7 separate regions of the Homo sapiens genome follow, and all the other regions are linked to region 3. Evidence: promoter capture Hi-C in human tissues and cell types (Jung and others, 2019). All regions are on one chromosome and are shown on one strand. Each heading gives the region's core, a stretch centred on a gene start or on the middle of the fragment in contact. The rest is flanking DNA. Distances are from core to core; before and after follow the strand shown.

Region 1 (4,095 bases), core at 1,318-3,817, 400 kb before region 3:
TGAAGGTGATTTTTCTCTGGTGGTATATTTTAATATCTTTCTATTTTTTGTGTATCTGTTGTAGTTTTTTTGATTTGAGATTAATAGGAGGCTTGCAAATAATATCTTATAACCCATTATTTTAAACTGAGGACAACTTAACTCTGATTGCAGAAACAAACAAAAAAGCACAGAAAAAACTAACAAACTCTACACTTTAGCTTCATCCTCCCACTTTTTAACTCTTTGCTGTTCATTTTTATATCTTATTATACAGTTTCTGTCTTGAAGAGTTGTCACAGTTATTATTTTTGATAGATTCATCTTTTAGTCCTTCTACTCAAGACACAAGTAGTTTAAACACCACAATTACAGTGTTATAATATTCTGTTTGACTGTGTGCTTACTACTACAGTGAATTTTGTACCTCCAAATATTTTCTTATTGCTCATTAACATCCCTTTCTTTCAGATAGAAGAACTGCCTTTAGCATTTCTTGTAGGACAGATATGATTGTGATAAAATCCCTCAGTTTTTATTTGTCTGGGAAGTCTATTTCTCCTTCATGTTTGAGGGATATTTTCACTGGATATATTCTTCTAGAATACAAGCTTTTTTTTCCTTCAGCACTTTAAATATGCCTTGCCACTCTCTCCTGGACTGTAAAGCTTCCACTGAGAAGTCTGCTTCCAGGTATATTGGAGCTCTTTTGTATGTGATTTGTTTCTTTTCTGTTGCTGCTTTTAGAATCCTTTCTTTATCCTTGACTTTTGGTAGTTTGATTATTAAATGCCTTGAGGTAGTCTTCCCTTGGTTAAATCTGCTTGATGTTCTAAAACCTTTTTGCACTTGAATATTGATGTCTTTCTCCAAGTTTGGAAATTTCTCTGTTATTATTTTTAAATGAACTTTCTACCCTGATCTCTCTTTTTCTACCTCCTCACTAAGGCTAATAAGTCTTTAATTTGCTTTTTTATGGCTATTTTCTAGATCTTGTAGGAAGGCTTCATTCTTTTTTATTCTATTTTCTTTTGTCTCCTCTGAGTATAAATTTTCAAGTAGAGTGCCTTCGAGTTCACTAATTCTTTCTTCTGCTTGATCAATTCTGCTGTTAGAGACTCTGATGCATTCCTTTTATGTCTACTGAGTTTTTCAGCTCCAGAATTTCTGCTTCATTTTTTTAAAAATTTCAATCTTTTTGTTAAATTTATCTGATAGGATTGTGAATTCCTTCTCTGTCTTATTTTGAATTTCACTGAACTTCCTCAAAACAGCTATTTTGAATTGTCTGTCTAAAAGGCTTAATATCCCTGTCACTCTGAGGTTGATCCTTGGTGCCTTATTTAGTTCCTTTGGTGAGATCATGTTTTCCTGGATGACCCTGATGCTTGTGGATGTTTGTCAATATCTGGGCATTGAAGAGTTAGATATTTATTGTAGTCGTTGTAGTCTGGGCTTATTTGTGCCTGTCTGTCTTGGGAAGGCTTTTCAAGAAAATTGTGTGTTGTGATCTACATCTTTGATCACTGTATCCCTATCTGCCTTAGGGGGCACCCTAAGGGCAGTAATGTTGTGACTCTTACAGACTCATAGAGGTACCTCCTTAGTCTTTGGTGAGATCCAGGAGATTTCTCTGGATTACTAGACAGAGACTCTTGTTTCCTTCTCTTACTTTCCCCCAAACAAATGGAGTCTCTCTTCCTTCATGCTGAGCTGCCTAGTGCTGGGGGAGGGGTGACACAAGCATATGGAACTATGCCAGGTCAGACCTGAAGCCAGCACAGCACTGAGTCTTGCCCAAGGTAACCACTTCCTGGCTACCACCAATGTTCCCTCAAGGCCCCAGAGTTCTACAATCAGCAGGTATTGAAAACATCCACACTTGTGTCTTTCCCTTTAGAGCAGCAAGCTACCCACAGGTCCGAGATAGGTCCAGAAATGCTGTCCAAGGGCCAGGACCTGGAGTCTGGAACCTTAGGAATCTACGTGAAATTCTATTTTACTGCGGCTGAGCTGGCCCTCAAGCCACAAAACAAAGTTCTTCCCACTTTCCTTTCTCCTTTCCTTAAGTAGAGGAGTCTCTTACCATGGCTACCACTGCCTTGGACCCATGGCAAGTACTGCCTGGCTACTACCAATGTTCACTCAAGGCCCAAGGACTCTTCAGTCAGCTTATGGTGAATGCTGCCAGGCCTAAATCTCTCCCTTCAAGGAAGTGGACTCCCCTCTGATGTAGGGCAGGTTAACAAATGTTATCCAGGAGCCAAGGCCTGAAACTGGTTACCCCAGGAGCTCACTTGGTGCTCTGTCTCACTGTGGCAGAACTGGAACCCAAACTGCAAAACAAAGTTCCTTTACTTTTCCTTTTTTTTGAGACAGAGTCTTGCTCTGTCGCCCAGGCTGGAGTGCAGTGGCGCAATCTCGGCTCACTGCAAGCTCCACCTCCCGGGTTCACGCCATACTCCTGACTCAGCCTCCTGAGTAGCTGGGACCACAGGCACCCACCACCACCCGCGCCCGGCTAATTTTTGGTGTTTTTAGTAGAGACGGGGTTTCACCGCGTTAGCCAGGATGGTCTTGATCTCCTGACCTCGGCCTCCCAAAGTGTTGGTATTATAGGCGTGAGCCACCACGTCCATCCTTTTTTTTTTTTTTCACTGAGGCAGAAGGAGACCCTCCTTATAGCCACCACAGATGGGAATGTGGTGGGTCACACCTGAAGTGAAGACTGGGTCTCACTCAAGGCTTATGGTGAATGCTGCCTGGCAACTGTTGATGTTTACTGATGTTTATTCAAAGTGCCCTTGAGTCAGCAGGTGATTAATCGTGCCAGGACTATGGCCTTCCTTTCAAGGCAGCAGGTCTCCTTCTGGCCCAGGGTATGTCTAGAAATGTCTGGGACTTAGGGCCTGGAATGGGGGGCCTCAGGAATCTGCCTGTAGCTGAGCTACAGGTATCCAATTCGCAAGATAAAATCCTCTTTACTTTTCCCTCTCCTCTTCTCTGCCCACAGTGACAGAGTTAGTTGGAACTCAGGTTTTGATCACTGGCCTGGACAACTCCTCTTTGTCTAGGTCTGGTGTAAATGCTCCCTCTGTGGACCTGGGCTGAATTCTGCCCCATGTTGCTTTCTGCTGTGACAGGGCAGCAGTAAGTTACAATGCCAAGTCCCACAATCACTGCACTCTCTCTCCCCGAGATGTGCAGATATTCTATTCATACCATATGGCCACTGCTACTCCCAGGAATCAGGGAGGGGCGGTACTGGCAATCCTAGACTGTCTTTCCTTTCCTCTTCAGTGCCTCTTTTCTTGTTATGATCTTAAAACTAGGTATTGTTATCATTCACCTGCTTTTTGGTTTTTATGAAGGTGCTTTCTTATGTGAATAGTTTTTCAATTTGGAGTTCCTGTAGGGAGGACAATCAATGGAGGGTTCTGTTTGGCCATCTTGCTCCACCTCCCCTCTGTTTTTTGTTTTTTAAAGTAAACGATGTTTATTTACAGATGGTAGAAGAAAGTCCTTCTTTATAAAGAGTAATGTGAGCTTATAAACAGATAGAAAATCACCATTGTGCCATTCCCCCAAGATAATTAAATTAGACAAGGATCAAGAAAGTCTACTAAGACCATTAGATTAAACGTAGGTGGAAAATAAAGCATTATTGTGATGCCAAATGGCATCTTACACACGACTTGCCAATCCAAAGGAAAAACATAACTTTACTATAGAAATATCCTGTGGTTGCACTTTGATCATATGACCAAATTTAGCGTTGTTATAGTGGGATCCCTTGATATTGTGCAATATGAAGTATGTAACATCATCTGTGGAATATTTTTGCCAAAACAATTTAACCAAAATCTAAACAAGCCCTTGTTTAGATATTTCCAATGGAAATATATGGGATAGTCATAAGTTAAATCTCACCACAAGGAAACAAACAAACAAATCTAACATGTGGGACATTATACAAGAAAACTAATGTGGTATGTTTTTAAAAAGTCAAAGTTAAGAGCAAAAAAAGGTTGAGGACTGTTCTTGAATAAAATAGCTAAAGAAACAAAAGAATCAAATCCAATGTGCGAAGTTTGGCTGGATTGTTTCAGAAAAAAA
Region 2 (3,833 bases), core at 914-3,413, 470 kb before region 3:
TCAGGAGCAAGTTGTTCAGTTTCCATGTAGTTGTGTGGTTTTGAGTGAGTTTCTTAATCCTGAGTTCTAATTTGATTGCATTGTGGTCTGAGAGACAGTTCATTGTGATTTTTGTTCTTTTGCATTTGCTGAGGAGTATTTTACTTTCAATTATGTGGTCAATTTTAGAATAAGTGCAATGTGGTGCTGAGAAGAATGTATATTCTGTTGATTTGGAGTGGAGAGTTCTGTAGATGTCTATTAGGTCTGCTTGGTCCAGAACTGAGTTCAAGTCCTAGATATCATTGTTAATTTTCTGTCTCATTGATCCATCTAATATTTGTGTCCTCTCTTATTTCCTTGAGCAGTGATTTGTAGTTCTCCTTGAAGAGGTCCTTCATGTTCCTTTTAACTTGTATTCCTAGGTACTTTATTTTCTTCGTAGCAATTGTGAATGGGAGTTCACTCATGATTTGGCTCTCTCCTTGTCTATTATTGGTGTATAAGAATGCTTGTGATTTTTGCACATGAATTGTGTAGCCTGAGACTTTGCTGAAGTTGTTTACCAGCTTAAGGAGTTTTTGGGCTAAGACGATGGGGTTTTCGAAATATACAATCATGTCATCTGCAAACAGAGACAATTTGATTTCCTCTCTTCCTATTTGAATACATTTTATTTCTTTCTCTTGCCCAATTGCCCTGGCCAGAACTTCCAATACTATGTTGAATAGGAGTGGTGAGAGAGGGCATCCTTGTCTTATGCCAATTTTCAAAGGGAATGCTTCCAGCTTTTACCCATTCAGTATGATATTGGCTATGGATTTGTCATAAATAGCTCTTATTATTTTGAGATATGTTCCATCAATATGTAGTTTATTGAGTGTTTTTAGCATGAAGGGTGTTGAATTTTATCGATGGCCTTTTCTGCATCTATTGAGACAATCATGCAGTTTTTGTCGTTGGTTCTGTTTATGTGATGGATTACGTTTATTGATTTGCTTATGTTGAACGAGACTTGCATCACAGGGATGAAGCCCACTTTAATGTGGTGGATAAGCTTTTTGATGTGCTGCTGGATTTGTTGCAGCATTTTTTACAATAGCAAAGACTTGGAATCAAGCCAAATACCTATCAATGAGAGACTGGATAAAGAAAATGTGGCACATATACACCACGGAATACTACGGAGCCATAAAAAAAGAATGAATTCATGTCCTTTGCAGGGATATGGATGAAGCTGGAAACCATCATTCTCCACAAACTAACACAGGAACAGAAAACTGAACACTGCATGTTCTCACTCATAAGTGGGAGTTGAACAATAAGAACACATGGACACAGGGAGGGGAACATCATACACCGGGGCCTGTCAGGGGGTGGGGGGCAAGGGGAGGGAGAGTATTAGGACAAATACCTAATGCATGCATGGCTTAAAACTTAGATGACGTGTTAATAGGTGCAGCAAACCACCATGACACATGTATACCTATGTAACAAATTTGCACGTTCAGCACATGTATTCCAGAATTTAAAGTAAAATAATTTTTTAAAAAGTGACATGAAACAAATGCAAAAAACGATAGTTTCAGTCATGCAAATTTCTAAGCTATCTCTGCTTATAAGAATGACAAGTATAGGAAGGAAATCTGCATTTGCTGAGAGCCTAATGTTAGCTGAGCAATTTAATTATGTTATCCTATTCCAGCCTCAAATAACCCTGGGACAGGTAAAAGCTCAAAGAATACACATTTCTTGATGGAGGTAGAACTGCTGGCAAAGCCCTCATATGAAGGAATGATATTCAATCCATTTCTGGGAGATCATGTTCAATCTACTTTAACCCACTACCTTGTGTTAAAGTGCAAATAGATCTTCAAGAATTTCATGGTTGCCTGCAAAAAGGCACCAACTAGCAAGTGAATTTACCACCATAGCACAATCACAGCTCACATCTATTGGACCCTTTCTATGCTCCAGGCATGGTGCTAAGCATTCTACATGCTTAACCTTGCTAAATCTTCTTCAAATGCCAGGCACGTGAGGAACCTATGATTTAGAGCAAGTAAGTAACTATCTCAAGGACATGTGTGAGCAAGTGGTCAAGTGAACCCTGAAAAATCTCTGTGCTCCTATGTTCTCTGATATTACAGGAGATCTGTCACCCTTGGGTCACAGTCCTGTTCTTAAATATTTCTCCAAAGTGTTATCTGAAGAAATACATCTTCTTCACCACAAGGGGATATTTTATCTCATGGATCTCTGCTGTACTACGTGGAACACACTTTACAACAATGAGAGATAATTTGAGGGACCCAGGTGTCCTCACAGCACAGAAAATGGAAAGGGCATGTCTGGGAGCCTTAACGGCATTCTTCCTTTGGTATGGTTTTGTTTGGTCTTCTATTCTGCAAGTTGGTGCCTCAGTTTCAGTAAAAAGGGGTAAGGCAAGTAGAGGGTAAGTAGTAAAAAGAGTTACAAAAGATGTAATAACAATAATATCAGCAATAACAATGATCCCACCCCGCAAGAAGAATTAAAGGATGAAGATTTATGTTGTTCTTTGAAGATGAAAAGAATGAACTTAATGTGTGTTATTTCATGATGCAGCCAAAAGCGTTGTCTCTGCCCCATCTCGGGAATGCCCAACCACTGAGCTGCTGCTTCCTTGCATGGGAATTACTCTGTGGACTGAAATGTATCATACAAAGGAAGATCTTAGAAAGTCCAGAGAGAAAGCCATCCTCAAGAGCATAGCTTCCACATATAAAGTTATTTTATTCACTTCTTTGACTCTGTATGCCACAGATGCCCTGCCTCAGTAGTCACATAAGGAGAAAATTCCCAATGAGAAAAAAAAAAAATTTTGAGAGTCAGGAACAAATTGGAACCGACACTGATCTCAATAGCAGGCGCTGGTAGGGGGTGAAATTATTTTTCAAACGCTTTTGCTTCTCCTGGTAAAGTAGTTAGTGTTGTATTTTTATGCTAGAAGGAAAAAGTGATGAAAAGTTTTTAAACCCAAGAAAACAAAACCCTTGATTTGTGTCCAATTTTTTTGCAAAACAGGATCCCATATGGCCAGTGCTGGTCTTAGTAGGTCTGAAACAAATTGGATGATGCACCTTTTAGATTTGGCTGTTCTGTTTCTCCTCATTTCTGTGAGGGTTTTGCTGCTCAGTAAGCTTATCAGCCTTGCTCTGGGGTTTTAGCTGCAGGGGGAGAGGAGGCAGAAGGCCATTTCATAACACTTTTAGTATCTTAGGTTCCAAACGCACAGATGTCCAGTCTGGCTCTGTAAGGGGAGGGGGGCGGGTGTGTGTCTGTGTGTGCAATAGTGAGAGTTGGTGTTTATGTGATAGGGCACGAGTAGAGGAGGGGTGGGGTCAATAGCACACCCACAGTACGCACCGCCCTGCAGCAGGCTGTCCTGTGCCATACTGTACCATGCACATCACACTGCCCTTTAAGCAGTTTTTCTTGTGCTACAAAACAGTAGAAGACTGTTTCCAGGTTTCTGCCTGCTTAGGCCAGTAATTCCAATCCCAAGCTTAGCCACAGTCTGACTTGAAGGGGAGAGTTCTAGAGAAGGATAAAAGAAGAATTTTCTCAGCAAGTTTGTTTCGTGTGCCCTCCCAAGTTCAAAGAGAAAATTCTGTCTCATTAAAATGACTTCTGGCTTTGCTTGGGGGAATTTCAGGCTTCAACAGTTAACTTTTCTGGAGTTATAACTTTTATGCATTTCTCTTTTTATTGGGTAGATGTTATGATTGGTTTTATAAGCAAAATAAACAGCTTAGGAACAAATGAAAGACTTTTTATTTCTCTTTTAACCGTAAATTCAAGAGCTTGAAATG
Region 3 (3,818 bases), core at 877-3,376:
TGCACCAGTTCGGCGCGCTCCACGCCAATCGGAGCAAAGAAAACAAACCTACCAAGATTCCTCAGTTTAACTCTGCCCCTGGGAGCACCTCTAGTTTGACAGAGTGGGGCTGACTCCTAGCTGGTGGCCGACTAAAGAACTTCAGGGAAGAGAAAAAGAGAATAACGCCTTTTAAAGCACCGAATTGTTAGGGGGAAGGGAAAGATGGAGAAAATAAAGTAGAAAGTAAACATTTTAAAGCCTGATGGCCTCAAGCATACAACTGAAAAGGAGGTGGTGGGGTGAAGGACAGGAGAACGGGAAAAGAGCGAACGGGAACCGCGAGAGGGAAGGGCGATCCCGGGAGCTGCTGCGGTTTTGAGAGCTCCGGGCAGAGCTAAACCTCAGGGGATGGAAGTCAAAATAAGTACTTACTTTCGGAGGGGAAGAAGGGCGGCATGTCTATTTTGTAAACCTCCTTGGCGTAGTACTCTTCGTCGCTCCTCTCGCGCTCGCAGGCGGCCGCCCTCCGGCTCGCCTTCTCCTGGAGCAAGTCCCTGGTGCTGTTGTAGATGGAAATCACCTCCGGGGGGACTTCCTCGGGCTCAGGATAGTCTTCTGGGGGACTGGTGAGCTTCAGCTTGCTCAGGATCTGCCCGCGGATCGCCTCGATCCTCTTGCGCATGAACTGGTCCATATCGAGTGTGCTGCAGGTAGACAGGCTGAGCGCGACCGTGACCAGATGCAGGATCAGAAAAGCGCTCAGCACACAGTAGTGCATTTTTTAAAAAAGTGGAAAAAAAAGTTGTTTTTAAAAGTCAGAATAAAAAAAAGAAATCAACAATTCTCAAAGTATAGATCAAGGAGAGTTGTTTGGTTTTTTGTTGTTGTTGTTTTTGATGCGAAACTTTTGCAAACAATCTAGTCAATGCCCAACAGAAAAACGTATCCTGCTTGAATTCCTTTAAAAAGAAAAGGCCAGTAGTTCCAAAAGTGGAAATATTAATACGGGACGGGCAGAGGGAACCCTGACTTTGGCGAGTAAGAAGAAAAAAATTCTTGGAGCAATGAGATGGGGAAAAAAAGAGACGAGTGGCTATTAAGTAGAAATAAATTTAAGAGGAGGAAGTGGAGTTCAGTGTGTCAGTCTCGGGTGCGGAGTGGCGGATCTGAACTCGGCTCCTCCGGCCAAAAGGGAAGAGATGAAAAGGTCCCGGGGCTGGCAGCTGGCGAACTGACGGGAGGGGCGCCGGGAGCGCGGTGAGGGGGGCCGCCGAGGCTGACCTGGGCTGAAATTTATATATTTAAAGAAGGAGCGGTTCGGTCCTGCCTTCCACTGCGGCGCTGAGAGCAGGAGCAGCAGCAGCTCCGGAGCAGAGAAGCGCACACGTGTGTGCGTGCGTGTGTGTGTGTGTGTGTGTGTGTGCGTGTGCGCGCGCTGGGGGCGAGCCCAGCGCACCGCGGGGAGGAGGGTGCGCTTCGCAGGGCGCTCGGTACTCGGTCGGGTGCCGCAGGGGCCGCAGAGGCTGCTGAGGCGGCGCGGATCCTGCTCTGGGAGCTGCGCTCCGTGGCCTACACCCTGGCGGGCGCGCGCTGACCCGCTTGGTTACTCCACGTTGCTGCCGCCGCCGCTTGCAAACGCTTCCAGCCTCCAGCTCCCTCCTTCTCCTGCTCCTCCTTCTCTTGCTCCAAACGCCAACCCAGCCACAGACGATCAGCCGTCGCGGTTGCGTTCACCCCCTGCGGATCACAACGGCAGCCCTTGCGACACCCTGGCTGGGGAGTTTTATTCCTGAGGGGGTTGCGCAGGGGCTCCCTTGGACTCCCACCCTTTCCCAACCTCTGCTGGCTTCTCCCCAACGTGGAATTGCTCGCTTAGGGTAGGTAGGCACTTGCCACCCTAAAATAGATCCTCTCTGTCTCCTCCTGTCTGCAGCCGGGCAGCCCCTCAGTTTGTTCCTGGATGACTCCCTAGACCGTCAGGCTAATATTCTCCATCCCCCTCCCCTGCCTCTTTCACTTGCGCTCTCGCTCTGCTGTCTCTTTCTCTCTTTCTCTTTCTATCTCTATCTCAATCTGTCTTTCTCTTGTCAGGAGCTTCTGGAGCTCCGCTCGGAGCGAACCTTCTGCTGCCAGCAGATAACATCACGATCTTGCCGGGGAGGGGAGATTTATAAGTTCTCTCTGAACCACGTGTCTGCCTTCAACAAAGTGACGTGCTAGGATTACAGTCAGAAGTCCTCTCGTTACTTAGACCACGAGCTCTCCCCGAACCGTTGAGGGAGTGTGGAAATGAGGACCGCTGTGGGTAAGGGAGGAAGGAGGTGGAATGTGCGCCCTGACAACAGTGATTTACGGTATTTACTTTCCAGTCATTTTGGACAGGTCTGTTGAAGGAAGGACAATCAAGTCTCCCGTTTTTACTTAGTGTAGCTCAGTCACAGCCTCCCAAGCTGAATCACTTGCTCTAGAAGGGAAGGCTTCCCTCCTGTATTATGTGTGCACACGCACCCCTATGGGAGGGAGCACTAGTCTACTCAGGGCCAGGCCAGTACTGAAGACATACCTTCCAATCTTTTAAATTCATGTCCTACCTCTTATTTTCTGGGATACCTTAGCAGGTTGCCATCCCAGAATTTATTTTGTTAGTTTGTTGTTTACAATGTACCCCTCTGTTTGTGAACTGCTGGAAAACAGAGATCCATCAATTTTACCTAAAGAATAAGGTATACTTGTTTGTTTTACTGATTTGAATGAATGGTCACCTTTATAATTTGCTGCCTAAGCCACTTCTTGTATGGCTTTCTTCTTCACCTTCTTGCTAGGCTAAACATTATCAACCAACTTCATTCTTTCCATAGCATTAATCCAGGAAGCTGGAATTTTAAGTGTTTGATGTCTACTGTTCTACACTACTCATAACTTGACATTTTCAATTTCAACTAAGTCTAAATTAGATGAATACAAGAATAACTCTTACCACTGTTCCACCTTCCCTTTTTCTTTTATTTTACCTTTAGTTACTCAAAGTCAACATTTTCATTTCGGCATGACTCTGCAGCCATACTGACCAGACAGATGATTTAAACTGGAAACTCTGTTGAATGTACTCCCAAACCCAAGATCTCTATACTGTTCTCTACTTCAGATGTTCCTGAGTTCAGAAAAGTCACAAAGAACTTTCTATCACTTTTGGAATTTATACTTCAGTTGTGTATGGGGCCTAGGTTATTAGTAGAGCACTGAATAAATAAAATAATAATAGCTAACATATACTACACTTAGTAATTTGATGTGTGTTGTGTATGGTCATTTAATCTTCACTATGAACCTATAAAGTGGGTCTTATTATCCATATCTGGCAGATGAGGAGACTGAGGTACAAAGAAGTTAAGTACTTTGTTCGAGACCACAGTAAGTGGTAGAGCTGGATTTTTGCAGTCAGGATCCACTATGTTCTTACCTACTATGTACTTCTGAGAAACAATGGTCCCAGAATATGTTCTGACAAACAGGAATTCTGGAGTCAAACAAGTTTGGGAGATACTGGGTACTCTCCTGTCCTCTTAGATTCCTCATTCTGGAACATTATCATGTTAAAGGCTCTGAAACTCCTGTAGAAGAGAAAACCTTTTCACTCTTTTAACCCAGCATTTTCCAAACTCCCTTGAATACAGAATTTTTTCCATTATCACACATTGAAAAACTCTGGAATAAAATAATTGTTCCAACCCACTTCTGAATAATTCTAAAAATTATGTATAAATCAGCACCAGCAGGTTCCTTTCCTTGATACCAGTTTTGAGTTGAAGCAAAGCTACCATCCCAGTAGCCCAAGA
Region 4 (4,077 bases), core at 538-3,037, 430 kb before region 3:
GTCTCAAATCACTACCCACATTGCCACTCTGCATAAAACCCTAGTAAACAAAGCCAGGGTTGTCTGGGAAATGCATAGCATGAATCGTGTGCAGCCACTGTCTTTTATGCAGTTAGCTTTTTAATTGACTTTGCATGCATCAACTGTGCCTTCCAGTAAGCAGATACAGCTCCCGGGGAATGTCAAAAGATTCCTATCTCAAGAGAAGTTCTAATCCAGTTGGTGCCATTGAGAAACCTTAAATGGCAGCTTTCATCTTATTTACAAAAATTCTCTGGGTTCAGGTTACATTTTAATCCCAGTTGCTATATCAGCTTTATGGCAGCGGAGGTGGGGGATGGACTTGGGTGGCTGTTTTTAGCTAAATTTTATTGTTCTTTCCTTTTATGTAAATTATTACCTCAAGCAGAATTCTATAATGGAGGGCACTTTCCAGGTCTGGAGGGCAGGCCAGCTTTGGACTCAAACATTACCATTTCTTCTTTGCTGAACAGAGAAGGCTGCAGCTTGTGATAGAGAAACAAGTTTATCTGTGCATCTTTTTTCAACATTACTAGGGAAAATTCGATCCCTTGGATATATCTGCAGATCTCCATTACCCAAAGCAAAGCTATAACCATAGTGGTGACTCATTAGCCATCATGACTCTCCAAAATGAAGAGTGTAGCATTGTCACCATTTTTTTTTTTGGCATCCAAACCCACACTGGGCTTGTTATCCTTGGATAAAATCTCATCTAGATTCTCAGTTTCCCATCCTGTCACATAGTCTGTGTGTGTGTCTGTGTATGTTTAAGAAAATGATACCCATCCCTTGAGCTTGGTTCTCATTTGTTTACCACATAGTATTTGGTCAGTCCATTTTTGCCTTTAAATACGAATAAAGGAATGTTGAGTAAGAGGGAAACACCTGTTACGTAGAGAACACGTGCCATGCTCCATAAACACTACCTAATCAAATCCTCAACATAATCCAGGGAGTTGGTGGCAGTTATTATTCTCATTTTACAGATGAGTAGACCTGAGGCTCAGATGCTTGAAGTGATTCTGTCAAGATCTGACTTCTAAAGGATGGCCTGGCTAAGATTTGAACACAGATTGCCTTCTCCATCAGACCACATGGCTTCGGAGTTGAGCATTGCATAGCTCTTCCTTGACCACCTCCCCTGCCTCTCAGCATCCTCTGTGCCGTGTCCCTTCTGAGCCTGGTACATGCAAGACAGTCTATTGGAGAGTTGAAAAATCAGCTACGAAAATCTTACTCACATGACACAATCAATTCTACTTTTACCCAAATCCATAATTTGGTAACATGTAACATGATCTGAGGGTTTCCTGGTAGACCCTTAACTCTTTCCTTATCTGAACCACCCCCACTGGGTGTCATTAGACATATGATCTCTGTGCTTTAAGCATTACCCTTCTCGAGGAGAAGTGTAATGAAAAGTCTAGGTAATAAGGTGATCAATATCAGATTATGATGGATTATGTGCTGTCCCAACAACTTATTGCAATTTCACCCATTAGAGCTTTGACTCCAGTAACAAGCTGCCATCTAGACAGTCTGAGAACAAGGTCACAGAGGGATGGTGAGATAAAAGTCAAATGAGCATCACACTGGGAGATAAGAGAAACTGCCAGCTGTCCTGGGATGACTGATGTAGCCTCTCAGGGCTCAGTTTTCTCATCTATGAAGTGGAAATAAAAGTATCTTTCATCACAAGTGTAATGTGAGTTTAAACGAAGTGACAGAGCCCTGGCTTTTGTATATATTCCATAGTAGCTATCTCTGATCAATATTACTCCTCTGCCCAATGCTCTCTGCGGAGAGAATGGTGAACCATGTCCAGGCTAGGCAGAATGCATGGGCCACTCTGTCAGTCACCAACCCTGATGGCCAAGGGCAGGTGGAGTCCTCAGGAAATCTCATGCTCCCAATCCTAAGGAGTTTCCAACATAAGAGGTGAGAAAGCTCAAGCACAGGAAAGATTTAAGAAACGCTAAAAAGAATATATAATCACGTAGAGCAATGGGTTAGGGCTTTGTGGATCTAAACACATAAGCACCAAGAGGAAGATGGGAGTAATGGAGTAATCTGAACCAAGTGGAACTGGTTTAAAATGGGCAAAACTTTAAGACATAGGAAGAAGGATGATAGGGCCGTCCTGTAAATCCCTTGTGAAACCATGGCTTGTCCTATGCAGTGCTGGGGTACCTAGGTGTTGCACACCCCAACTCTCTGATGGTTAGTACATTTTGAACAGAAAAAAAAACATCCTTAAAACTACCCTATGAGCTTTATATTATTCCCATTTTATATATGTGGTCCTCAGCATAGCCCAGATCCACGCATTTTCTTTTGTTTAGATGAATTAAGTTTATACTCTGCTTCCCAAACCCCTGTCAACACCCAAGGAAATCCAAAAGGCTTTCCTTCTTCTTCAGGGACAATATTGAAAGTAGTTAAAAACAGTACAGGCTAAAATCACAGTGGTGGGAGGGTCAGGATGCTTAGAGAAGGCACTTAGAGGGCCCACTATAGAAACTATGTACTAGCTGTAACAGGAGCACTTCAATATTCTCACAAACCTCTTGGCTATACACTAACGTGCAGGAGCTAAATTCATTTCTATCCTTCTCTCCGCTTTACCTATTATCTCAGAAATGCCCATGCTGATGATGGGCACCGTGAAAGTTTGGGAATACCAAGCACTGTTAGTATTGCTTTTACCATAATCATGCCTGGGTTTTGCCTTTGTGTGAAGAATTTCACAGTTTTCCTCAAACTGCTAGTAATGGGTAGAGCTTTGATAATAAGCAAAAGAAGGGGCTTGGGTCTCTCACCTTCTTCAATCTCTCATTTTCAGAGCTGCCTTGCACTTTCAGACATCATTAGCTAAAGTCCATTCCCACAATTCCCACTGCAACAAAAGCCAATAATACTTCTTAAAACTATGCAATCAGTATAGATTTCTGAGAAAATTCTTGTCATGGAGGCCTCTAAAAAGTGCTTCCTGTTCAGGATCCTCATCTGCAGAAATGACCTGGAGTTTGTCAGCCTCACTTCTTATCATGGCCCCCACATAAACAGAAAGACAAATGTAAGATGGCGCCCTAACTATGCAGCCAAAGATTGTGCAGTAAATCAGGACGCCCTGCACTCACATAGCTCTTCTGTGAAAAATGGGGTATTTTTTAATAGACTGACAGTAATAAGCCAGGTTGTGTAACCACCAAAACAAACAAATAAAAAAACACCCAGTTGAAGAGTAGAAGCAGGCCACGTGATAGAGTTGGGGCCCCCTCCCCCTCATTCGCACAGCCCCTTCAATCTTAGGTTAAGAGGAGTTACTGGAGTGAAGTTATTTGTATAACCCACAAGAAGGCCTCCCACCCCCACATCCTTTAACTGGATTAGGTCTGGAAAAGCTAAAATGATTTTTAAGTGTTCCATCAAAATCAGGATTCTTATCACTCTGGTTTGGCCACCAGCCTGCATTTAGCTCCCAGTTAATCTCTGGTGCTGGGCCTCTCTCTGGGGGAATGAGGAGGGGTGTTGTGGGGGAGGGGTGCCCATGCCCATGCTCACTGTCTTAAGGGAAGATTTACAAACAAAGTAAAAGTGAATTAACCCCTAGTGTTCCAAAGGTGTCCAGGAAAATAACTCAATTGAAATCATATCTTCAAATTCATTGGGACAGAAAAAGAAGCTTAAAACCTTAGAAGTGTCTTAGAGGCCCATGTGTAAGGAACTAAGTAAGAAAAGATCTGCTGTAATCAGTTCACTTATCAGTTATGAATGAGAGGAGGAACGTCCTTAATGGCTTCTTTACCTAAAGCTTGCAGTTCGCTCTAATATTGCTGATGAAAGGGTGCCAGGCAATCATATAGCCATTTACATTTCTGGGTTCAAATCACCACCCCAATTCCATTTGATATTTATGTGACTTTGGATAAGACATTGATCCTCTCTGTATCTCAATTTCATTTTGAGGAAATTAAAAATACCTTTCTTATTGCTTCATAGGATCATTTAAACCTAAATGAAGTTTCATAATGTATGTTAACAATGCATGAC
Region 5 (4,303 bases), core at 449-2,948, 460 kb before region 3:
CCATCTCACATGCCATGACACCCAAAGGCTCAAAGAAAAGGAATGGAGAAAGATTTATCAAGCAAACAGAAAACAAAAAGACCAGGGATTGTTATTTTTATGTCAGACAAAACAAACTTTAAACCAACAGTGATCAAAAAGGACAAAGAAGGGAATTACAAAATGATAAAGTGTTTAATTCGACAAGAAGACAACTATCCTAAATATATATGCACCGAACACTGGAGCACTCAGACTCATAAAACAAGTTATTATAGACCTGCAAAGAGACTTAAATTACCACACAATAATAGTGGGAAACTTCAACAGCCCACTCTAAGGGTTAGACGGTTCATTGAGGCAGAAAACTAATAAAGCTGCAGGATCTAAACTTGATCCAGCAGATATCTACAGAACACTCCATCCCAAAACAACAGAATATATGTTCTCATCTGCGCATGGCACATACTGCAAGATTGACCACCTGTTCGGCCATAAAGCAATTCCTAACAAACTCAAAAAACCAAAATCATACGAACCACATTCAAAGACCACAGTGCAATAAAAATTGAAATCAATACCAAGAGGATTTTTGAAAACTGTACAATTACATGGAAATTAAACAACCTGCTCCTGAATGACTTTTGGGTAAAGAATGAAATTAAGGCAGAAATAAAGACATTGTTTGAAACTTATAAAAACAATGATACAACATACCAGATTCTCTGGGATACAGCTAAAGCATTATTCAGGGGAAAGTTTAGAGTGCTAAATGCCAACATCAAAATGGTAGAACGATCTCAAATTAACAACCTAACATCCCACCTAGAGAAACTAGACAAACAAGAGGAAACCAATTCCAAAGCTAGCAGAAAGAGCCAAAATCAGAGCTGAACTGAATGGAATTGAGACATAAAAACCCGTACAAAAGACAAGTGAAACCAAAAGTTTGCACTTTTAAAGAATAAATAGATTAATATACTTCTAGCTAGACTAATAAAGAAAAAAAGAGAGAAGATTCAAATAAACACAATCAGAAATGACAAAGGTGACATTACCACTGACCACAAACAAATACATAAAACCCTCAGAGACTATTACAAATACCTCTATGCACACAAACTAGAAAACCTAGAAGAAATGAATGAATTCCTGGAAATACCCAACTTTCAAGATTGAGCCAGGAAGAAATCGCATATCTGTACAGACCAATAACGAGCTCTGAAATCTAATCAGTAATTAAAGAACTACCAACCAGAAAAAGTCCGGGAACAGATGGATTCACAACTGAATTATACCAGACATATAAAGAAGGGTGGTATCAACCTATCAAACTATTCCAAAAAATTGAGGAGGAGGGATGCCTCCCTAAGTCATTCTATGAGGGCAGCATCATTCAATATCAAAACCTGGCACAGGCCGGGCATGGTGGCTCACACCTGTAATCCCAGCACTTTGGGAGGCCAAGGCAGGTGAATCACCTGAAGTCAGGAGTTGAAGACCAGCCTGGCCAACATGGTGAAACCCTATCTCTACTAAAAACACAAAAACTAGCTGGGTGTGGTGGCGGGTGCTGTAATCCCAGCTACCCGGGAGGCTTAGGCAAGAGAATCACTTGAACCCAGGAGGCAGGCATTGTAGTTAGCCAAGATGGTGCCATTGCATTCCAGCCTGGGCAACAAGAGCAAAACGCTGCCCGCTCCCCGACCTCCACAAAAAACAAACAAACAAACAAACAAAAACACCAAAAAACCTGGCACAGACACAATGAGGGAAGAAAACTTCAGGACAATGTCCCTGATGAACATAGACACATACTAGCCAGTTGAATCCAGCACCACATTGCAAAGCTAATCTATTATGATCAAGTAGGTTTTATCCCTGGGTTGCAAGTTTACTTCAACATACACAAATCAATAAATGTGATTCATCACATAAAGAGAACTAAAAACAAAGACAGGATGATCATCTCAATAGATGCAGAAAAGGCTCTCAATAAAATTTAACATCTGTTTATGTTAAAAACCCTCAAAAAAGTAGGCATCAAAGGAACATATCTCAAAATAATAAGAGCCATCTATAAGAAACCAACAGCCAACCTCATACTTCCCATCATACGGAATGGGAAAAAGCAGAAAGCATTCCCCCTTAGAATGAGAACAAGACAGGAATGCCCACCCTCACCACTCCTATTCAAGACAGTACAGGAAATCCTAGACAGAGCAATCAGGCAAAAGAAAGAAATAAAAGACATTTAAATAGGAAGACTGGATGTCAAACTAGATCTCTTTGCGGGTGATATGATTCTATACCTAGAAAACCCCAGAGTCTCTGCTCAAAGTCTCCTAGAATGGATGGAAAACTTCAGTTTTCAGTTTCAGTTTTGTATCCTGAAACTTCAGTTTACAGGATACAGCTAACCAGGTAAGTGAAATATATCTACAGTGAGAATTATAAAGTATTGCTGAAAGAAATCAAAGACAACAAAGACAAATCGAAAAATATTCCATGCTTATGGATAGGAAGAATATGGTTAAAATGACCATACTGCCCAAAGCAATACAGATTCAGTGCTATTCCTATCAAACTACCAATGTCATTGTTCATACAACTAGAAAAAAGCTATTTTAAAATTCACATGGAATTAAACAACAAAAAAGGCCTGAATAGCCAAAGTAAACCTAAGGAAAAAGAATACTACCCAACTTCAAACTATACTACAAGGCTACTTTGTATACGAAAACAGCATGGCACTGTTACAAAAACAGATGCATAGACCAATGGAACAGAATAGAGAGCCCAGAAATAAAGCCACACACCTATAACCATTTGATCTTCAACAAAGTCAATAGTAACAAGCAATGGGGAAAGGACTCCCTCTTCAATTAATGGTGCTAGAATAACTGGTTAGCCGTATGCAGAAGATTGAAACTGGACCCCTTCCTTTCACCATATCCAAAAATCAACTCAAGATGGATGAAAGACTTAAACATAAAACCTAAAACTATAAAAACCCTAGAAGAAAACCTATGAAATATCACTGTGGACATAGGCCTTCACAAAGATATCATGATGAAGATTTCAAAAGCAATTGCAAACAAAAATAAAAATGTATAACTGGGCCGTAATTAAACTAAAGCACTTCTGCTTAGCAAAGGAGACCATCAACAGAGTAAACAGACAATCTAAAGAATGACAGAAAATATTTGTGAACTATGCATCCAACAAAGGTCTAATATCCAGATTCTATGAGGAACTTATACAAATCAACAAGCGAAAAACAAACAACCCCATTAAAAAGTGAACAAAGGACATGAACAGACACTTTTCAAAAGAAGACATACATGCAGCCAATAAGCATATGAAAAAATGCTCAACATCACTAATCATTAAAGAAATTCTAATCAAAACCACAATAAGATACCACCTTATACCAGTCAGAATGGCTATTATTAAAGAGTCAAAGAATAACAGATGTTGGTGAGGTTGCAGAGAAAAAAGAATACTTGTACACTGCCGGTGGAAATGTAAACTAATTCAGCTACTGTGGAAAGCAGTTTGGAGATTTGTTAAAGAACTTAAAACAGAACTACCATTCAACCCAGCAATCCAATTACTGGATATATACCCAGAATATAAATCATTCTACCAGAAAAACACATGTATGCACAGTTCATCACAGCACTTTTCACAATAGTAAAGACATGAAGACAACCTGGATGCCCATCACTGGTGTGGTGGACTGGATAAAGAAAATGTGGGGCTGGGTGTGGTGGCTCATGCCTGTAATCCCAAAACTTTGGAAGACCAAGGCTGGTGAATCACTTGACCAGCCTGGCCAACATGGTGAAATCTTGTCTCTACCAAAAATACAAAAATGAGCCGGGTGTGGTGGTGCATGCCTGTAGTCCCAACTATTCGAGAGGCTGAGGGAGGAGAATCACTTTAATCCAGGAGGCACAGGTTGCAGTGAGCCACTGCAAGATCACGCCACTGCACTTCAGCCTGGGTGACAGAGCAAGACTCCATCTCAAAAAAAAAAAAAAAAAAAAAAGAAAGGAAATGTGGTACATATAGACCATGGAATACACACAGCCATAAAAAAAAAAGGATAAAATAATGTCATTTGCAGCAATATAGATGTAGCTGGAGGCCATTATCGAAAGTGGACTAACACAAGAACAGAAAACAAAATACCACATGTTCCATGTTCTCACTTATAAGTGGGAGCTAAACCTTGACTACACATGGACACAAAGAGCAGAACAGTAGACACCAGTGTCTTCTTGAGGGTGGAGGATGAGAAGGAGGTAAGGGTTGAAAA
Region 6 (4,199 bases), core at 464-2,963, 490 kb before region 3:
TTATTTTTGCTAAGTCACTTCTTTGTTTAGTTGTTGCTCCTTTGACGGTAAAGAGGGCTTTTTTTTCCTCTTACTGATTTATAGATTTTTGTTTTCTCCTTGTCTTTAATATCTTGGAGTTTCAGTAGCAAGAGAATAGATATGGAAATTTTTTTTATTGTGTTTGAGATTTATTTATCTGTAGATCTGCATTTTTCTTTAGTTGTGAAAAATTCTCAGCCATTATCTTAACAAATATTGTCTCTTCCGTTTGGTTCGCTCCTCTCTTTTTGGGATTCTGATTAAGCTTATGTTATCATTTCTCACTTTATTCTACTCACAGTTCCACAGGTTGTACAAGAGACTATATAGAAGAGAATGCCTTGCTGTTTTTTCAAACATCAGTGCTGTTTTCTAAGACATTTTGTCTGACCTACCTTTCAGTTCATCTATTCTTTCTTTTGCTGTGTCTATTCGCCTGTTAAACTTGTCCATTTAGTTTTAAATTTTAGTTTTTTTTAAATTCTGGAAATCATATTTGTTTAAGTTTATTATGTTATTTTATAGTTGATTTCTCTGCAGATGTATTCAATCTTTTAAAAACACTTAATTTTTTGTGTCTGGTAATTTCAATATCTGAATATTTGCAAGACTGTTTCTATTTTTTTGTTTCTTTACAGTGGCCTCCATTTATCAAGTATAATTTCCTTGTATGCCTGGTTATCTTTGCTGTATGTTACATGTTTTACATAAAATAATAATTTATAGAAATAATTATTGAGGCCTACAATATGTGAATATTTATCTAGATATAATTTGCTATTGTTCCTGCCAGATTGCTGGATCTCTTACAGTTTGGGATCACCTCAAATCAAGGTGCAAAGGTGGTTTTCATTTTTCTTTCCTTTTTTTCTTTTCTTTTTTTAAGAGATGGGGTCTCACTCTGTCACCCAGGCTGGAATTCAGTGGTGCCATCATAGCTCACTGCAGCCTCAAACTCTTGGGCTCAAGCGATCCTCCCACCTCAGCTTTCTGAGTAGATAAGACCACAGGTGTGATCAACCACAGCTGGCTATTGTTATTATTACTATTTTGTGGAGATGAAGTCTTACTATGCTGCCAAGACTGATCTCTAATTCCTGGCCTCAAGCAATCCTTCTATCCTCCCACCTCAGCCTCCACAAGTGCTAGGATTACAAGCATGAGCCATTGTACCTGGCCCCCAAAAGGATTTTAAATGATTCATGGGAATATTCAGTTAACCCTTACCTTACCATGGTCCTTTGGTTCTTCCGTGTGTGTGGGCAGGTGGAAGGTGTCTTCTGCTTTTATTTCTGTCCTTATCACTTGGTAAGGCTATCAAGATTAAAAATAACATTACCAGGTTCTGCAAATGCTCTCAAAATAAACTAGCTTAAGTACTCATTTCTCTAGTTATTTTTTCTTCACTTTGGATTAACATTTCCTTACTTGACCTCTTGAATTATTTTCAAAAATGTTTAGATGTTTCTAGACACATATTTTTGTTATTGTTTCTTTCCAGTGGGAAGAATGAACCAAATGGCTTTCTATTCACTCTTCATGATAGGTGATATACTCATTTCTAAAGTCTAAATTTGATATTGACAAATTGCCCTGCACAGTGAATGTATGAATTTGCACTCTCACTAGTAAGGTATGAGAGTGCCTCTTTGTCCTCATCCTCATCTATATGGTATGTTATCACACTTTTGAATCTTTGATAATCTGATAATTTTGCATAGTTTTAAATTTTAATTTATTTTAATATGAGTAAGAGTGAGTATTTTTATTTCAGGGGAATTTAAATTTCTTTTTTAACATTTTAATAGTCTCTCAGTTTGTATCATGTGCTCATTCTTCTTTTTGGTTGATGATCTTCTGGATTTGTAAGAGTTATTTTTAAAAAGTAAGTTGCATATTTTTTGTAAGTTGTTGTTATGGTCCCTCCCAAAGCTCATGTTGAAATTTAGTTGCCAATGTAATGGTGTTGGGAGGTGGGACATGTAGAAGGTAGTTAGGTCATTAAGATGGGTTAATGTCTTTCTCACAATACTGGGTTAGTTATTGCAAGATTGGATTAGTTCCTTTGAGAGTAGGTTGTTATAAACCTAGGTTGCCCCTTGTGTTCTATCTCTTTTGCACAGGCTCCCAACAACGTGATGCCATCTGCCATGCTATGATGTACCATGAGGCCCTCGCCAGATGCAGCCACCCAGTATGGAAACTTCTCAGTCTTCAGAGCTGTGAGACAAACCTCATTATTAAAATAGATTTTCCAGTCCCAGGTACTCTTTTATAGCAATAGGAAATGACCTAAGACAGCTGTTATGTTTTCCTGTTGTATCATCCGTCTTCTAATTTTCTTTTTGATAGTTTGGTAAGGATAAACTGTCTTAATTTTTTGTAGCTGTATTTATCAATGTGATTTTTGTAGTCTTTGTGTCACACACATAAAGGTCTTTCATACTCTGAAATTATAAACTGTTTTCTCCCTCCATTACTTTTATGATTTTATATTTTTTACTGTGGACTCTTCAATTTTCTTGAATTAGTTTCAGTGACAAAATGTGAATCCATTTTTGTCCAGATGGCTTCCCCATTATCTAAGCACCATTTATTGAATTATCCATCTTTTCCCCCACAGATATTTGACATATATTATATGATGCCACCTTTATTATATGCTAATCCCTAAGTATTTCTACCTATTTCTGGACTTCCTAGTTTGCTCCATTTACATGTCTGTCTGCTAATGTGCCAACACTGCCTCATTTTACTGTTAAACATTTTAATCATTTAAAAATATCTGTTGTGCTATTCTTTTATCAAAAATACTCTTCTGAATTTTCCTTTTAAAGTTTTCCATATTAAGTTTAAAACTAATTCCACAGAAAAATGCCTTGTTATTTTTATTGGAATCAAGTGTTATTTATAGATTAATTTTGAGAGAATTTATTGTTTTATGATGTTAGATTTTCCTATTCAAAAATATGATATGCTTTTATATTTGTCTAAGACTTCCTTTCTCCACTGGTAGCATTTGAATATTTTCTTCATACAGATTTTATGTGTTTCTTGTTAAGTATATTCTTTACTACTTCTCTCTTAAAGAGACTTTTTTTTCTTGAAGAGACTACATACTACAGCAGTTAAAGCCATAGCCTGTGGATTAAGACTCCCTAAATTTAAATTATGGTTCTAAAACTTACTAGCTGTAGAAACACGAACAAGTTAATTAAATGCTTTACCTCCATTTCTTCATTTGTACTACAAGCCTGTGAAAGCTCTCAGAAGAATGCCTAGTGCATAATAAGAATTCATTATTAACTCATTGTTGCTATTGTAGATGATTGTTTTTTTCCCATAAATCTTCCAACTTTTTATTATTTACATAAACAGAAACTATTGGTATCTGGACATATTTTGCATCTAGTCAGCTTATTAAATTTTCATTGTTTGGCAATCATTCTCCCAGCTGATTTTCTAAGTATGGTGTATAATCATATGTGTTTCAAGTAATGATATTTTATTTCCTTCTTTGCAGTTTTTATATTCCAATTGTTTTCTCATTATTTACTTTGGCTAGCATTTCCAGAAAGATATTTAAAACTTCAGAAGATACAAATAATAACTATAATCTTTCTTCTCTTTGATTCTAAGACTGTAGTTTCTCCTAGTTACCTGCTTATAGTTCTGAGCAGACTTTTTTCACATCCTTTGCCGGATTTTCTTCCTATAGATGCCTTTATATCTAGTAACTCCTGTTTCTAGATATTCTCTTTGTCCATGGTTTCTCACTGTACACATCATCCCAGAATAATTCTTCAATTAATACTCAAATTATAATGACTCACAAAATTACATATCCATTCTATATATATTTCCTACAACTCTAATTTCATATATTCACTTCCCATTGGGTTTTTCCATCAGAATGTCTCAGAAATACTTAACAGCAACATGTTCAAAATGGAGGTCATTTTCACTAACCCTCCTACACACACACACACACACACACACACACACACACACACACTTTGTTTAATGGCAACCACATAAATATAGTAACTAGAGCTAAACATACAGGCTTTATCTCAATTCATTACTTCTTCCCATACCTTAAACCCATTAAACACTAAGTCTTGTGGAATATCTCTCAAGATCATTTCTTATTCTCTAGCTGAAGTTTCTTATTTCCT
Region 7 (3,678 bases), core at 997-3,496, 380 kb before region 3:
GACCAACATGGAGAAACCCCGTCTCTACGAAAAATCCCAAATTAGTAGGGCATGGTGGCACATGCCTGTAATCCCAGCTACTCAGGAGGCTAAGGCAGGAGAATCGCTTGAACCCAGGAGGTGGAGGTTTTGATGAGCCGAGATCGCGCCATTGCACTTCAGCCTGGGCAACAAGAGTGAAACTCCGTCTCAAAAAAAAAAAAAAAGAAAAGAAAAGAAAAAGAAAGAAAGAAAATAAAAGAAATAAGACAGGATTGGGCATAAGAAGCCAACCTTAATACATTGGCAATTGATGCCTCAGCTGATTCTATGGGGAGTTATGAAACTGAGGTAATATTTCACTGTTTTCCTAACTAAATGAAAATGGGTCAGTCCTTTGTATTTCCATACCAGTCAGTTATTGATCACTGGCCACTTGAAGAGGGCATAATCTTGGGCAGCAAAGTTTCCTAAAGCTGAGGGCAATTTCCAACAAGAAAATCAGCTGTGAGCCATCAGTAGACACTATTTGCCTCAGCTAGGGGACGAATGTGTTAGCTGCATAGTTTAGGCACTGAATTAATCTATTTATTTCTTTCTGCACATGCATATAATACAGAAAATAAAACAATTCTATGAAGTAGAATTTCCCTTATGCCGCGCATTTCACCCAGCTAAACATTTTCAATTCCTTTAGCTGGTTATTGTTATATTTATGTTCAGTTATCCAAAAGAGTTCTTCGTGACCTTTTTCATATGGGGAGTACCATTAGGCCCTGCTCTATTTTGACCATTCTCTGCATAGCCCTGTCCTCTAGGAGATAAAAACCAGGACTTTGACTTTGCTCAGCTACCCTATATATTTAGGAAATCAATATCTTGAGGTTTATCTATAATCAATTATTTGTCTTTTGCTCCATTTTTTGTTTGTTTTGTTTTGGAGGGAAAATAGCCTAAGTATTATCTTTCAATTCTTTTATTAAGTATTTTATTTCTGTTATAATGTTTGTAATTTCTATGGACCCTTTTTGTTTTGTTGTTTACGTTGTGTTCTATGTGTGTTATATCATCCTACTGTCTTATGAGAGCAATATTTCATCTCTTTAGCAATTTGATAGTTTATGTGAAGACTTCTTCTCCCTGAATCATCTTAGGACCCCCTAAATTGCTGTTTTATGTTGTTTTTTAACCTCTATATTTAATTTTAGAAATCTTCAAATATCTGTTCGTTGTTAACTTTCTGGTATATTTTGAAATGTCCATAAAAAAGTTGATTGAAACACAAATAGGCTTGTTGATCATGTACTTAATGTAGGTCGATATTTCTGGGATGTTTTGTTATAGAACCCGCAATGAAGTGCTATTAGTGTTTCCTCTTGGGCTAGTCATTTTCACCAGTGAAGATTCTACTTAAAGAATATAATCCTGAATCCTGGCTACCAATTTTGAGATTTAAGTGGAAAAAAAAGCTTGAAATTCTCAACATTTTAAGTGTAGCCTTCGAATTAGTTACTTTTTTTTTTTTTTTTTGAGACAGAGTCTCGCTCTGTCGCCCAGGCTGGAGTGCGGTGGCGCGATCTCAGCTCACTGCAAGCTCCGCGTCCTGGGTTCACGCCATTCTCCTGCCTCAGCCTCCCAAGCAGCTGGGACTACAGGCACCTGCCACCACGCCAGGCTAATTTGTGTGTGTGTGTGTGCTTTTAGTGGAGATGGGGTTTCACTGTGTTAGCCAGGATGGTCTCGATTTCCTGACCTTGTGATCTGCCCGCCTCGGCCTCCCAAAGTGCTGGGATTACAGGCGTGAGCTACCGTGCCCCAGCCTAGTTCCCTTTTTCTTATGCGTGGTATGCTCTCTCTCTACTAGGCTAGTGCTAGTGTCTCTAAATCTATTTTCCCTCTTCAGATCTTCAATCTCTTTCTCTTCTTGGTTGAGGAGAAGCAGTCACTTTATGGCACAAAGGGACAGATGGTCTTGGTGAATCTACCTGTTTTTAAACATAGCCCCACCTTCAATTGACTTTCAGAGGTACCTAATGCCAGTGATTTATGTGTTTTGGGGGTTCTGTTTACTGTAGCTTTCTGTGTCCTTTTTTTGTTCTGGTAGGTTTAGATATTAGACATACACATGCTCCACACACACACACAATCTGCAATAGTACAATCTTTACTGCTAATTTAGTGGGCCTGGGAATACATTCAACATTCATTTTAGACAGAAGTCCTCTAAGCTTTTGTATTGTTTTTTAATTTTAATGCAAATCTAATATATTATGTTTAGGTAACATAGTGTTCATCAAGTTGGACCTTGGAATTTGTTGGTTTCATCTGTGATTAGTACATGGCTATTTTGTTGGTGTTTACATTTAAAAGAATATTTGTCATTCGTTATGTGTAATTTTTTATCTGTCTCTCTTAATAAGCTTATTAATACTATTCAAATTTTTTATATCTTTACTTATTTACTAACCATTTAATTACAAGGTGGTTATATTTAAATCTCCAACTACAATCATTACATTATCTATCTCTCACTATAATTCTATCAGCTGCTACTTTATATATATATTGATGCTACATTGTGGGGTACATATTTGGTTCCTGATAGTTATGACCTCTTATTATTTTGACTTTATGTGCATATATAGTTCGTACTTGTCCTTTGTTATTTTTTCAAGTTAAATTCTATTTTTTTCTGATATTAAAATTATCTGGTTTTCTTTTGATTCATTTTTGCCTAGAGTTTATCTTTCTTTTATTTCTGTTTTTTTCATATCTTTTTGTTTTAAGCACTTGTTTTGTAATCAAAATACTGTAATCCAATGTTATATTATAATTGCAAGGTATTATAATTTAGCTTTGGATTAGTTATTTTCATTGACTTACATGTATTAGAATAGACATCATATTATTTCTGCATTTTTAGTATTTTTTATTTACCACACATTTTATATTATGTTTTCTTCTTTCCTGCCTTCCATTGGAAATACAAATTTCTTTACATGGTCAGAATACTTTATTAAACCTAGTTTCTTTCTTCTTCTGGTTACTATAGATATATTAAAATTCTTACATACTATTATTTTATTTCCTTATTTCTTAATTTTATAAATATTTTTGTCTTCCCCCTAAAGAAGACAAGTACCTTAGAATAATATATCACATTCCCTCAATTCCCTTCACCTTGCATTTTAGTTTCAAATTATTGTAGCCAGCATTAAATTTTACTAATTTTACTCATATTTTTTTCTTATGGTGTCATTCTATATTTATTTCTCTTTTTGTCAGATTACTTTCTTCATAATATTTTCAAAGAGAATCTTTTTGCAGTAAACTCTCTGGAATTTATAGGTGTTTCAGTAGCTCTTTATTTCATGCCTGTATTAAAACATTGATTAGCTATGTATAAAATTATAGCTTTAGAATTCTTTTTTTAATACTTTGAAATATAATTTATTATTTTCTTACATCAAGAGTTATAAGAAAAATCTATACATCAGTAAGAGAAGTTCGATGTTGATCTGATCTTGTTCCTTTGTAATCTCATTTTCATTAAGTCAAATTTTTTTAATTTTGTATTTAATGGTGTTAAGTTTCATTATGTAGTTATTGGCTTTACCTTATCCACCTTTTTTGCCCTCTTTTCAATCTTAAATCTTTTATTCTGGGAGCTTCTTAGAATATTTTTTTTTCTGCTAGTTT

The links. Contacts are between HindIII fragments. The study calls those that stand out against the background at their distance.
Region 1: a fragment that was not itself captured here is called in contact with the fragment with the promoter of TGFB2 in region 3 in 1 of the 25 tissues and cell types used here (mesendoderm cells).
Region 2: a fragment that was not itself captured here is called in contact with the fragment with the promoter of TGFB2 in region 3 in 2 of the 25 tissues and cell types used here (IMR-90 fibroblasts and aorta).
Region 4: a fragment that was not itself captured here is called in contact with the fragment with the promoter of TGFB2 in region 3 in 3 of the 25 tissues and cell types used here (heart left ventricle, liver and mesendoderm cells).
Region 5: a fragment that was not itself captured here is called in contact with the fragment with the promoter of TGFB2 in region 3 in 1 of the 25 tissues and cell types used here (mesenchymal stem cells).
Region 6: a fragment that was not itself captured here is called in contact with the fragment with the promoter of TGFB2 in region 3 in 1 of the 25 tissues and cell types used here (thymus).
Region 7: a contact is called between a fragment that was not itself captured here and the fragment with the promoter of TGFB2 in region 3, in 2 of the 25 tissues and cell types used here (IMR-90 fibroblasts and aorta).

Annotation. Positions count from the first base shown.
Region 1 is chr1:218,741,755-218,745,849 of GRCh38, reverse strand. No RefSeq gene overlaps it. Among named protein-coding and RNA genes, the nearest start is that of LINC01710, 170 kb to the left of the region's middle. The HindIII fragment of the contact is 3,896 bases long and covers 620-4,095 here.
Region 2 is chr1:218,817,453-218,821,285 of GRCh38, reverse strand. No RefSeq gene overlaps it. Among named protein-coding and RNA genes, the nearest start is that of LINC01710, 99 kb to the left of the region's middle. The HindIII fragment of the contact is 5,444 bases long and covers 1-3,833 here.
Region 3 is chr1:218,343,644-218,347,461 of GRCh38, reverse strand. TGFB2 (transforming growth factor beta 2) reads right to left here and starts at 2,126. Exons shown (of 7, transcript NM_003238.6): 1 at 415-2,126. The coding sequence starts at 760. TGFB2-AS1 (TGFB2 antisense RNA 1) reads left to right here and starts at 1,784. Exons shown (of 3, transcript NR_046268.1): 1 at 1,784-1,859; 2 at 2,074-2,287; 3 at 3,000-3,266. RefSeq lists enhancers at 77-577, 1,709-1,758 and a silencer at 2,139-2,198. The HindIII fragment of the contact is 13,667 bases long and covers 1-3,818 here.
Region 4 is chr1:218,775,019-218,779,095 of GRCh38, reverse strand. No RefSeq gene overlaps it. Among named protein-coding and RNA genes, the nearest start is that of LINC01710, 140 kb to the left of the region's middle. The HindIII fragment of the contact is 5,281 bases long and covers 1-4,077 here.
Region 5 is chr1:218,798,011-218,802,313 of GRCh38, reverse strand. No RefSeq gene overlaps it. Among named protein-coding and RNA genes, the nearest start is that of LINC01710, 120 kb to the left of the region's middle. The HindIII fragment of the contact is 6,551 bases long and covers 1-4,303 here.
Region 6 is chr1:218,837,323-218,841,521 of GRCh38, reverse strand. No RefSeq gene overlaps it. Among named protein-coding and RNA genes, the nearest start is that of LINC01710, 79 kb to the left of the region's middle. The HindIII fragment of the contact is 4,884 bases long and covers 1-4,155 here.
Region 7 is chr1:218,722,092-218,725,769 of GRCh38, reverse strand. No RefSeq gene overlaps it. Among named protein-coding and RNA genes, the nearest start is that of LINC01710, 190 kb to the left of the region's middle. The HindIII fragment of the contact is 4,462 bases long and covers 16-3,678 here.